Regions from separate parts of the Homo sapiens genome. Here region 2 is linked to region 1. The links are contacts of gene promoters, found by promoter capture Hi-C in blood cells and fetal thymus (Javierre and others, 2016). All regions are on one chromosome and are shown on one strand. The core of a region is centred on a gene start or on the middle of the fragment in contact, and the rest is flanking DNA. Distances in the headings are between cores, read along the strand shown.

Region 1 (6,471 bases), core at 1,462-3,961:
TGGGACCATCCTACCTGCCACCTTCAAATTCTGCCATAGCGGAGCCTGAAGGCTCTTCAGCTGCAGCTTCACCAAAGAAGTCCAGAGTGTGCACCAAACTAGTGAGCCAGCAGCTCCCGATGCCGCAGGTGAAGGAGGCAGCAGAGCCTTACTCGCTGTTTTTATCACCATCCCTCCAGCAACAGCAGCAGCAGCAGCATCCACAACTACTATTTCTAATTGTGGTAATAATGATGATCACACTTAGAATAATGATAAATAACAGTAGTTGTAATTGCTGACATGTTTAGTTTATATATAGATTTATTATTTGTAATGTTCTATAATTTACTTTTAGTAATATACACATTAATTGTGTCATAAATATCAGGACCTCAAAACACCCCACCTAATGAGTGATTCTCACATATGGACCCATGGCTGCCCACCTGCTAGCGTGGGTCCTCTCACCACTCCACCCCCAGAGCTTCGATCTGTCTGGTCAACATTCTGGGACAATGAAGTAGTTAAGTCATATGGTCTGACTGTGGTCTTGGCAAATAGCTTGACTTGTTAGAAATCAAAGGCTGACTTTAAGACGTACTCAGCTGTTTGGCTAAATTGTGGCAGAAAAAAATGTCTTCTCAGCAGATATACCTTTGTATCTCTTGCTTTCAGAGTAAAAGATTGTTTCAGTCACAGTAGTTTGAGTTAATCTGTATTGAAAATCATCAACAGCTTACAAATACTGAAAGGGGACAAAAATAATTTGCAGACACATTGAGTCCATTATAAGTGCTTTCAAATCTCTCCTATAAGAAATGAAAAATAGAATGTTAGGCCTTGATTTCTTAAACTCAGCCTTCAGCCATTTTCCCAAATTATTCTACATGTTTCCAAGACATTTCAGAAGCATTCTCTGGTGGGGATTATTTCCAATTGTGAAGAGTACTAGAAGGATGAGAATCAAAAGGAATCTTTCTTCTATCGCAAAAGAGTCAATCTCCAGGATTTCAAAGGCCTAGGGAAGCTGCTTGAGTTGTGAGGTCCATGGAGGTGCATGGGCTTTGGAGTCAGGCAGAGTTGATCCTGAGTTCCAGCCCAGCCCCTTAGTAGGCCCTAAGGACTCCCGTGGTGCTGTCACAAGCAGTGCTGCCTTTGGGAGCCCCTAACCTCCTGTCTTTTCTCCCTTCAGTGTGGGAAAGGGGTTTGGTCAGCCAGTGGTGTCAGCAGCCCTGTCCCACACCCGTTGTCTACACCTAATCTGGTGGCAGGGAGGCCACAGAGTGCAGCGACTAGAACTGGGTGAGAGGGTGAGAGGCAGCCATGCCCCAGGCCAAGACAAGTGCATGGAATCCTGACTGTCAGCAATCAGGGATGTTTCTGCTTTGGGGAGGGAAGCATTTGTTCCACACGTCTCACTGAATAAGGCACAGAGCCTGATCTGTCCCAAGTGGGAGTTTAACCAAGCTAGATGGCGGCCGAGGGCCCTGGCCCAGTTTGACACCCACCTCCTCTCCCACCTTCTACTCAGCCAGAAGACTAGGAGAATCTACTCAGCCGGAAGACTACGAGGTGCTGCAGCGCCACTAGCTCCAAGACTCCAGAAAAACAGGAATAGGGCATTCTGGCAGGTCAAAGCAGACAGAATACTTGAGCTCAGGAGTTGGCGAACTGACTATTAACCTGTAGCCCCAGTTACTTGGGAGGCTAAGGTGGGAGGATCGCTTGAGCTCAGGAGATGGAGACCAGCCTGGGCAACATGGTGAAACCTCATCTCTACAAAAAATACAAAAATCAGCCGGGCATGGTGGCATGTGCCTGTAGTCCCAGCTACTCAGGAGGCTGAGGTGGGAAGATTGCTTGAGCCCCGGAGGCTGCAGTGAGCCATGACTGCACCACTGCACCAGCCTGGGCAATAGAGTGAGACCCTGTCTCAAAACAAAAGCAAAAACCAGAGGTAGGGCTGAGGAGTCCGTGGCCACAGAGCCTGAGCCAGCACGGCCCAGAGGAACTGAGCTCCCAGCCCTGTCGCTGCCAAGGACCCTTCTTCCCTGAGCTTGAAGGGATTGAGAAGGAGAGACAGACGGACAGTCAGCGGCCCCGTTACCAGTGATGCAGACTCCAGGAGATGCGGGCAGAGTTGTAGATTAGAAGAATAGGCCAGCCCCTCTTCCACGTTCCACCACGGCCCGCAACATCCTCCTGGGACCCCAGCCTGCATGCCCCTATAAGATGCTTTTGCACTGGTTCAGTCTATGTATCATGCGAGGGCCTAATTGAAAACACGTGAATGAAGTGTACGGCCTTCTGTTCCCAGCTGAGGGGCCCCCTCCCACGGTGGCGTTAGCAGTGGGGTACAGTGCGGTAAGAGAGGTGCTAAGGGACGGGATGAGGGTCTTTCTTGCTTTAAAGGTGTCTAAATATACTTCTTCTTAAACTTAATTAGCTAATAAGATGTCTTATACAAGCAGAACCAGGTAAGGGAAAGAGCAAGTGTATTTCAAGTCGCAGCTCACCCCTTAATTAGCTGTAATACCCGCAGCAGGCGGCCCCACCTCAATGAGCCAGTCTCCCTTTCAAAAAAAAAAAAAAAAAAGGCACTAATAATGAGGGGGCGGGGCATGGAGCTTTATCCAATCAGGGGCGCTGGAGTGGAAACCGTCCAATCAGGAGTGAAGCCGGAGAGCAGGGGCGGCTTCCGGGATTTGGCGGGGGCCTTCGTCGGCTCCAGTTAGAGCTCGGGTCTCCTCGCCACAGCTCCGAGTCTTTCGTTCTGGGAGGCCCAGGCGGCTTCGCGTTCTGAGAATAAACAGAACCTCTGTTGCTCTGCGACTTGCAGGCACTGGGAGATTCGTAGCTAAGACGCCAGGGCATCCCGGAAGCTGGGAAATGGTGAGTGTGCGGGGTCGGGGGTCCCCAGAGGGAGGGAGGGCGGTGGTCGGAAGCGGCGGGAACCCGCTGTAGGGGCACCCGGGCCTCCCCGCAGTCAGCCTCGGGGTCTGGGCCCCGAGTCCCAACTGGTGCAGCTCGGCCCTCGGTCCCCTCCGCTGCAAGATGGCGGCCAGGCCGGCAGCCGGGACCCCGCGTGTCCTGTCCCATCCCGACCCCGCAGAGCGACCTCGTCCCTGGCCGGAGCCCTCTCTGGGCAGCTCCGCGTCGCAGCCCCGCGTCTCCCCCAGATTGTGCGGTGAGGACGGGAGCGTCTCAGGGGAGACCCAGGTTCGGTGTGTGGGAAGAAACCGTGCCCTGTGGGGTCCTCAGTCACTACTCCTCTTAAGAATTAAAGGGAGTCACTGTTAAAACGTTGAAGAATTTGAGCAAATAGCGATTTGTGACATGGGAAGCCTGCAGTCCTGGTTTGTGGTTCGGAGATCCCCAGAGGGGCTTGAAGGAAAGGTTTTTATAAGGTGCATGAGGAAGCAGACCAAATTAACCGATGGGTTACAGTTTGTAGTTGCCTTATTTAGACTATGCAGGTGGAGGTGAATTGGAGCTTTGTGGTTCGTTAAGTCTGAATTTTGTTTTCCCCTAAAGTTGTAATTTACAAGAAAAGCATTTGAGTTTGGTTTTGGTTTTTCTCCCTAGAAACCTGGGGCACTATAACCACTTCCGTATAATCGCCTGCTCATTAATCATCTTAACACTGCCCAGGGGAACTGGTTTTCCCCCTGCGCTTTCCTAACGTGTAGCACGCAGAGTCTCAAGTCCACCACTGTGTTCCCCCAGTCTAACTGGGCTTGCAATAAAATATTAAATTTCCAGTTCCTTCCCGACATTTCCAAAGGCCAACTTCCCCTCTCCAGTTCACATTCTTAACTATTGGTCATTTATTGTACATTTCAGACAGTATTTTACTCATTAATCATGATTTCACAGAGCAGTGGATGACACTTTTTTAAAGATTTGTGTTTTTTTGGCATACATTTCACGTGAGAGGAAAGCAGAGAATAAAAAATCCCTGACACTCCACTGCAAAAAAAACTGTGCCTCTTTTTCATTCATCTTCCCCAGGCACAGACACGTTATCGGAAAGAATGTCTTTTGACTTGAGGTTTTGCTTTGGAAACTTTACAGGGCCCTGTATAGCCACCCTCTATCCAGTCTTTTCCTGTTCCTGAATTTCAGAACTGTCTGGGATGACTCAAGATGCCCACAGTGGCCATGTCTCCTGGAGTGTTTAGTGACTGTCAGCCCCAGGTCACCTCCTGTTAGAGGACCGCCCAAGGTATGGAAATGTAGTCCCTCAGGGGAGCAGCTGGATGCCCTGGGGCTGAGAGAAATCTCCTGGGACACCCTTAACCTAAAAAGATAACCCCTTGGGACATAAGGATTTTATTTCTTCAAAGCTAGTTTTCATCCCTTGGAGACACATTGCTGGTCAGCCAATCGTTTGCTGGTATTGAGGGGAAACAGTCACAAATGATTCCTGCCCCCTAGATTCATTCAGATTTGTGAAGGGAGAAAAACTCCCAAAGGACCAAAAAACAAAAACCCCACCCCAGTGAGGTGGTGCAAACTCGGCTGCGGTGTCCATGGGGCACAGTGCAGGATCTGGGAGGATGGTCCCTGAGCATTTTAATGAGCAGTATTGGGGTAGGAGAATGTCTCAAATGATACCGTGACCTGACTTGACACTTGAGCCAGATATGTCTGTATTCCAACAGCATTACCACTCCCTGAGTTTGCTGCCTTAGATTGTTCATTTATTTCTACTTCAGTTTTTCAGTTAGTGTAAATTTCATCAGTAGAGCTTGAAAGATAAAAAACATTTCCAAGGCCATGAAAGGTGGATTTCAGAAAATTAAAATATCAAGTCATACTTCATTGTTAAAAATTCTTACTATCTTTTTTTTCAGCAGAATGAGTGTAGTAAGTTTCTCAGGTTTGTTCTTTTTTTGGGAGTAATTTAAAACAGAATCTCAGGGCTCACCTTTTGGAAATGCTGCCAGGGAAAAGAAACAGAGAAAATCTTTCTTTCATTATTGGCTGTAGAAAGTGAATACATTTTCACAACAACGTGTGGTAAATTGGTGAATTACATAGTTTCATCAAAACATCAGTTTCTTTTTTTTGTAGGGTGAAGAAGTTATGACAGTGGATATCTTTGTTCTTTATCCTCTTGTCTGGATGTTGAGTTTATTTTTTATTTTTTGTTTTTGGAGACAGGATCTCTCCTCTGTCACCCAGACTGAAGTGCAGTGGTGTGATCACAGCTCACTCAACCTCCTGGGCTCAAGTGATCCTCCCACCTCAGCCTTCCAAGTAGATGGGACTTACAGGGGTGCTGCGCCATGGCTGGCTATTTTGTTTTTTCTTTTTGTAAAGATGTGGGTCTCACTGTGTTGCCCCCAGAGTGGTCTCAAACTCCTGGGCTCAAGTGATCCTCCCGCCTTGGCCTCCCAAAGTGCTGGGATAACAGGCATGAGCCACCATGCCTGGCCTTGGATGTATGGCTTTAATGCTGAACGTAGCACTGGCTAGAATTGTTTATATATGATTATTTACTAAATGATCTGTTATCATGGAAATAAGTAAGTGGCCTATTTATTGTCTGAAAGGGATAGATACTTTAGTGTTTTCTGTTGAGGTATAAATTATAAAGGCGTTTCACTTTCCTTTATTCTATAAACACTGTTTGAGTAGTTTTGCTTTCTTCCAACACTGGGCATTCTCATTGAATACTAATTGAATAACCCTGACTGGGAAGCAGAAGCCTGAGCTCAGAGAGTGCAAACTAACCTGGTCTTGAGCCTGCAAGAAGAGGTCACTGAAGCCCAGTTAGTTCTTCCAGGGGAGTTTCCCCTGCAGGTTTCCCAGCCTGCTCACCCCATCCATGGAAGGAGCCCTTTATACTGAGAAGCTACAGAGCCCTGGAAAGCTGAAAGCTGAAAATCCACAGAAAGAGGCATTTGGGGTTGGGATGGAAGGAGGGTTGGGAGGCTCTTTCTGAGGGTAGAAATTGTGATTGTCCTGATTTTGGTTTTTCTTCCCAGAAACCCAGGGCACTACAACCACTTCCATATAGTCGCCTACTCATTAATCATTTTAACACTCCCCCCACCCGACAACTGGTTTTCCCCCTGTGTTTTCCTAATGTGTGGCACGCAGAGTCTCAAATCTACCACTGTGTTCCCCCAGACTGAGGCTTGCAGTAAAATATTAAGTTTCCAGTTCCTTCCCCACATTTTATTTGATTTTGTCAAATAAAACAAATTCAGGTTTAGGTAAGAAGTTCCTTAATTCTAAAGGAGTATTGCAATAGGGGGAAAGCAACAGCTGTAAGATCTTTGTGGATCTCAAAGGTTAGGCAGACAAAGACTTTCTTTCACAGGGAGGAGCAAACAAGCTCAGAAGGTAGGAGGGGAAGGGCAGGATTAAGGTGCCAAAATCAGATTCGAGATCAGAGAATGTTTCACTCTGATGTCAGCCTGTTCTTAGGAGGGGCTTAGGGAGGGGTTGAATGTTGACCAGGCTGTGAGTGTGTCAAAG
Region 2 (6,471 bases), core at 1,102-3,601, 3.6 Mb before region 1:
GAATGGAGAGCAGGCTCTAAATGTTAAGGGCTTTGAATGCCAGGATAAGTAAGGTTAGACTTTACCCTGATGGTACACAGGAAGTCCTTGGCAGTTTTATGTAAGACAGCAACCCAACCCCATTTGTATTTTACAGACCTGATGATCCCAAAGGATTTGGATTCTAGAAAAAAGACAATCACCAGGCACGGTGGCTCATGCCTGTAATCCTAGCACTTTGGGAGGCTGAGGTGGGTGGATCACTTGAAGTCAGGAGTTTGAGACCAGCCTGGCCAACATGATGAAACCCCGTCTGTAGTAAAAATACAAAAATTAGCCAGGCATAGTGGCACACGCCTGTAATCCCAGCTACTCAGGAGGCTGAGCCAGGAGAATCACTTGAACCCCGCAGGCAGAGGTTGCGGTGAGGCAAGATCGTGCCATTGCACTCCAGGCTGGGCAGCAGAGCAAGACTCTGTCAAAAAAAGAAGGAAGGTAGGAAGGCAGGAAGGAAGGAAAGAAGAAAGGAAGGAAGGAAGGGCGGGGAGAGAAAAAGAAAGAAAGGAGAAGAGAAGAGAAGAAAAGAAAAGAGAAAAAAGACAATCTAGACAGAGGCAGGAGGCCGACAAGTTAAGAACTGAAACAATATTCTCAATGGTAGAGGTTGCCAACCTATGGTCTGGGGGCCAGATTTGTCTGCAAAGTGTGTTTCATTTGGCCCATTCAATATTTCCGAATTTTGGGAATTCGTTTCAAACATTTAAAAGTTGGAAGATTTCTGGATGTCCTGCTTCTCTTTGAATATCATCCAGCCACGCACAGCCCACGATGTCTCCAGTTCCCCTCTTCTCCACCCTCTCTATCACTTTACATGCGACCCCAGTCGCTCATGTCTGCGCCTGTAGGTACTTGCGTTTGCAATCCCTGGCTCCTAAAGCTCTGGAAACAGTCGGGAGTGGCTGGGAGGATTACGCTGGGTTGAGAAAACAGCCTGATCAAAAACTTAGAAGAAATAGGGGCAGTCATAAAAAATGATGAGTTCATGTCCTTTGTAGGGACATGGATGAAGCTGGAAACCATCATTCTCAGCAAACTATCGCAAGGACAAAAAACCAAACACCGCATGTTCTCACTCATAGGTGGGAATTGAACAAAGAGAACACATGGACACAGGAAGGGGAACATCACACACCAGGGACTGTTGTGGGGTGGGGGGAAGGGGGAGGGATAGCATTAGGAGATATACCTAATGCTAAATGACGAGTTAATGGGTGCAGCACACCAACATGGCACACGTATACATACGTAACAAACCTGCATGTTGTGCATATGTACCCTAAAACTTAAAGTATAATAATAATTAAAAAAAAGAATGAAAAAGAAATGCTTTTGAAGCTTGAAGCTAAAAAAACAAAAAAAAAAGAAAGAAATAGGGAAGGCGTCCTATTGGGGCTTTCTCACTAGGGAAAGAGTGAGCTGCAGGGAGGAGAAAGAACAGGGCCTGGAAGGACGAGCTGTCCCTATCTCATCTCTGTCCCCATCCACCCACTTCATCCAGGCCACCAATTTCCGGTTATCAAACAGACAATGCAACATCCCTTACACCTGCTGTACCTCTGCCTAGAATCTCCTTTCTTCCCTTCTATCCGGCGAGCAGTTCCTCCCAGCTGCACTCCTGGACTAGTCACTGCCTATTTGCAGCAGGGATCGCAAAGGCGACCTCAGTTGGATAGGGCAACCACCCAGGCCCAAGTTTATGACCTCTTCCCCAAGAAGACTGTGAGTTCTCTGACGTCTCGCTGGAAATAGGATGCATGGATGGATGGATGGATGGATGGACGGACGGATGGATGGATGGATGGAAGCGCAGGCAGGCAGGCGGACGCATGGATGAATGAAATGCATATCCGAATGCAGAACCTGGATTTGTTTTCCCTCCTTCAAACACACACAGGCTCCGCCCCACTAGCACAGACCGGGACAGTCTGGGGCAGTCTCGTCCCGCAGGGCCCAGAAAGCTGGACCAGGTGACCCTCTCAGACTCCCCCGAGTCCTCTGTAACCTCGTTCTCGCCCCCTCGTGGGCTCTGACCTAGAAAAGGAGTGGGGTGGGTGGGGGGTGGGGGGTGGGAGCCAGCTCGGGAGCCACCGGCGCTAGGACCCAGCGCGGCCGGAAGGGGGTGGGGGCGCCGCGCGGGGAGAATCTGCGCTCCGCGGCGCGCGGCGGGAGGGCGGGCGCGCGGCGGGTGAGCGCGCTTGCGCGAGGGCGCGCGCCGAGCGGGACGGACAAAGGGGCGGGCGGCGGCGCGCGAGCCGGAGGGCGGAGCCGCGGGCCGGGCGGGCAGGTGCGCGCTGGCTGGAGGGCGGAGCCGCGATGCCGCGATGGAGCGCAGCCCGGGCGGGCGCCGGGGCCGGGGCCCGAGCGCCAGGCGGAGCGCGAGCTGGAGCCGCAGCCGGAGCCCGGGCCAGGCCGGGGGCCGGGAGCGCAGGGCCGGGCTGCTCGTAGCGGCGGCGACCGAGCCCCCCAGCGGCTGAGGGGCTTCCAGCGCCCGCCGGTGGCCGGGACCCACTAAAGCCCCCGCAGCCGAGGAGTGCGGGGAGCCCCCTTCCACATCCAGGATCCGGCGAGCCTCGGGGAAGAGGGGGGGCCCTCCCGGATCCGACACCGAGCGACTCCCCTGCGGGGAAAGCGGAGACTTCCTCGGTATTTAGAAGACAGCAAGCCCCCTACGGCACCGCAAGGACTCCCCCTCCTCAGTCTGGGCCCCCGCCCCAAGACCTAGAACGCAGTGCCCCCAGGCCGGGATTGCGAGAACCCCCTCCCAAGATCCGGTCATTACAACTCCACACCTCAAGACAAGAAGACCCAGCTCAGAACGCCCCTAGATCAGGGGATCCCAATTCCCCCCAACTCCGGTACATAGAAATCCCAAATCTAGGCAGCCGGGGACAGCAAGAGACACTCTCACCAGCAAGAAGCCTCGGGGATCCCCCCCCTAAAGCTCCAGGACTTGGGCGACTGAGCCCCTGGCGGCACCGCTTGCACCCCGGTCCATGGTCGTGGCGCCCTGAGCCCCCGGGGCCGGGCAGACGAAGACCGCGACGGCGCCCAGGCCCCCTGCCGCGGCGTCCCCGCGGCCCCAGCCCAGGTAAGCCGGGCCCAGGTGAGGGGCGGCAGGTGAGTGGCCACCGAGGTCCCCATAGCCCTGCAGGTGGGGAAGGAAGTATCGGGTTGCGCGCTCCCCCTTCCCCAGCGTCGCCATGGAGCCGAGGCTGAAGGACGTCTCTTTGTGTCTCGCTTGGAGGAGCCGCCCCCTCCTCCTCTCCCTTCCCCCACCCCACTCCCTAGCCTTGAGGCTCGGGCGCAGCTCCCCGGCCCCACGGAGGAGTGGTGGTGGAGCCCGTTGTGCCATGGAGAGGGGGGAAGAGGGCGGAGAGTCCCCCCCCAAAAGCTGCGAGCCTGGAGGTTGGCCCCCAGGTCCTTGGAGTGTGAATACCCCTCCCCCACGGCCAAGCTGAGCTTCTAGTGAAGTCCCCCCGAGAGGGGAAAATTTGGGGGTGCCCACAGGTGAGGGGGGCTGCCTTATGTGGCCCTGGGTGATGGCTGGGGCTTCGGGTGTGTGTCTTTGTCTGTGAGAGTGCGGGGAAGGGGTGTGTTTGAGCGGATGAATGGGAATCGCATCTTCCCTGTGACTCTGCTGCCCGACCCAGGCCACACTGGCGGTCTTTACCTAAACCATACTTTGTACTCCCTGTGGGACAGGGAGGGAGTAAGTACCCCCCAAAGTGAGGCGCTAGTTTCTGGGGAGGAGAGGTAGCCTAGATGAAGAAGCTATTTCAGGTCAGGGCACCGTTCTGTTCCCATTTGTCCCAGGGACAGCAACCCAAGTCTTTCCCTTCCCCTCCTAACCTGGAGAACACCCAGGTTAAACCAAGGGTTGGCTCAATGTGTCCCAGACAACCAAGGGCCAATTCCAGGGTCTCACTGTGGCTTTCCAGGTGGTACACACGGCCGTACCCCAGCCTGGCCCTCAGTGAGGTCCTGAACCCCAGGCTCTACCGCATATGAGGAAGCCGAGAGACCCTAGGGGACATTGTACCCTGAAATCCTGAATCAGATCCTGAGAAGGGGCTGGACTGCATGGAAAGAACACACTCTGGGCTGCTGGGAGTTCCTCTCATCTCTTCTCTCTGAGCCTTCTGCAGACAAGCAGTGATGCTGGACCCATTTGATAGGTGCACAAACTGAGGCTCGGGAAGGCAGGACCCAGGATACAGCTAGCCCTGCCAGTAGCTCCTTCACTTATTCATTCAACAAACCTGTCGCCAATGTCTGTGATGGACCATGCGCTAGAGTCAGGGTCCTTTTCCCCACTTCATTCCTATCTCCTTTCTTGATGTCTCCTGATCATCAGACCCCTGGGCACGTCCCATTGGGCCTGTTGAAGTGGACCGGGCCAGGTCCAGCTGAGAGATTCTTGACCCTACACCTGAAGCAGCTGATCCCTGTCCTGCTACAGCCTTGGGAGCCCTGAGCCTGGGTGGCTGACTCCTCATCTCCCACCTTCCCAGCACCAAGTGCCCCCACCCCCACCTGCTGCTGGCACTGACCCAAGGGTGAGGATGTGACCAGCTGGAGACGAGGGTAGGGGGCACTTGATGCGGGCAGACCTCTGGCAGCCTCTCCTGCCAATTTCAGGACAGTTGAGGCAGCCACCTTCAGCACAGGCTGTGGGGGAATCAGGTGCCCTGAAGACTGAGTGACCTTGGGCAAGCACGTGGCCCTTCCCAGAGAAAATGACAGAGAGTGAGCCTCTCTGCAGCTTGAAGGGCGGATGGAGATCGAAATTGGGCAGGACAAGCATCCAGGTTTGCTCTACCCATTGCTGAAGGAGTTCATTTCCCCCCAGTGGGGGTTCCCAGAAGCCCAGGGCTTTGTCACACACCCCACAGGCAAGGCAGTGGAACCAGAGGCTGAAGAGCAGAAATTTGAGTCACTGTGTCCAGGGCAAACTGTGAGGAGGCCAGAGGAGGACAAGGAGCAAGACCTCCCCTCCTCACTAACCTGCAGTGGCTCTCCATTGAGTCCAGAATCAAGTCGCTGAGTCCAGATAGTCTCTGGACTGCAGCCTGGCCCTAAACCACCTCTCCTAGCCCATCTCCTCCGTGTCCTCTAATTCTCTGCCTCCGTCACGTGCTCTTCCCCTGACCTGAAAAGCCCCACTCTAGGATGGCTCCGGAGCCGTTTTCTGCCTCCACCTCCCTTTTTGAGCTGACCTGAGCTGGCACGTAGTAGAGAGCTGAATTTGATTGGTTGGTGGTTTGGTGGCTTGGAGGTAGTGGCGTGTGTCTACATGTGCAGTGAGAGTTTGTCTCCACATCTAGACTCAGCTCCAGGAGACGGGAACCAGGTTTGTCTTGTCCATACTGCATCAGCATTGTCTAATTCAGAGCCCAGCGTATGGTAGGGCACGTGCTGTAAAATACAGCCTATAGACGATTTTTGTTGGTCCAATGTATTTTACATGTTTGTCTTTGTTGTGAGTGCTTAAAAAAAGTCGGGGGGAGGCAATTTCACATACAAAAGCTGATTTTTGGATCTTCTTGAAAAATCAGATGATGTGGCAACCTCAGGCCACAGCGGGAGAATGACCACCTTCTTTAGACAGGGCCCTTGCCTTCCAGTCCACCCCCAGGCAGCCGTTCGCTCCCTTAGGTCACCTCCTGGCCCCCGATGCTGGCATCTGGGTTTGCAGGCCCAGAAAAATCTTTTTTTTTTTTTTTTTTTTTTGAGACAGAGTTTCACTCTTGTTGCCCGGGCTGGAGTGTAATGGCGAGATCTCGGCTCACTACAACCTCCAGCCCCTGGGTTCAAGTGATTCTCCTGACTCAGTCTCCTGAGTAGCTGAGATTACAGATGCCCACCACCACATCCAGCTAATTTTTTTTTTTTTTTTTTTTTAGACAGAGTCTCGCTCTGTTGCCCAGGCTGAAGTGTCGTGGCACAATCTCGGCTCGCTGCGACCTCCACCTCCCGGGTTCAAGCAATTCTCTGCCTCAGCCTCCCGAGTAGCTGGGATTACAGGCACCCGCCACCATGCCTGGCTAATTTTTTGTATTTTTAGTAGAGACGGGGTTTCACCATCTTGGCCAGGCTGGTCTTGAACTCCTGACCTCGTGATCCACCCTCCTCGGCCTCCCAAAGTGCTGAGATTACAAGTGTAAGCCACCACACCCGGCCACACCCAACTAATTTTTGTATTTTGGGTAGAGACGAGGTTTCACCATGTTGGCCAGACTGGTCTCGAACACCTGACCTCAGGTGATCCACCTGCCTTGGCCTCCCAAAATGCTGAGATTACAGCCACCACACACAGCCCAAAAAATCTTTGTTCGGTGGGCAACCTTCGTCTGTGTGTGTTCTGCACTCATGGGTGTTCCCTCCCACCCCCATGGTCAAGTTAGAACGTGCACAGAATAGTGTCCACCCAGG

Evidence for each region. The method cuts DNA at HindIII sites, captures the fragments that hold promoters and counts their contacts. A CHiCAGO score of 5 or more calls a contact.
Region 2: a contact is called between the fragment with the promoter of SBK1 here and the fragment with the promoter of ZNF267 in region 1, in 1 of 17 cell types (fetal thymus). The highest score is 5.8, in fetal thymus.

The regions. Positions count from the first base shown.
Region 1 is chr16:31,871,096-31,877,566 of GRCh38, forward strand. It overlaps ZNF267 (zinc finger protein 267), which reads left to right and starts at 2,712. Exons shown (of 4, transcript NM_003414.6): 1 at 2,712-2,874. The coding sequence starts at 2,872. RefSeq lists enhancers at 2,533-2,827, 6,297-6,471 and silencers at 2,714-2,763, 2,914-2,993. The HindIII fragment of the contact is 12,710 bases long and covers 1-6,471 here.
Region 2 is chr16:28,290,174-28,296,644 of GRCh38, forward strand. It overlaps SBK1 (SH3 domain binding kinase 1), which reads left to right and starts at 2,352. Exons shown (of 4, transcript NM_001024401.3): 1 at 2,352-3,127. LOC124903670 (a long non-coding RNA gene) reads right to left here and starts at 1,892. Exons shown (of 2, transcript XR_007065033.1): 1 at 1,594-1,892. RefSeq lists silencers at 1,844-2,015, 2,223-2,452. The HindIII fragment of the contact is 5,383 bases long and covers 1,373-6,471 here.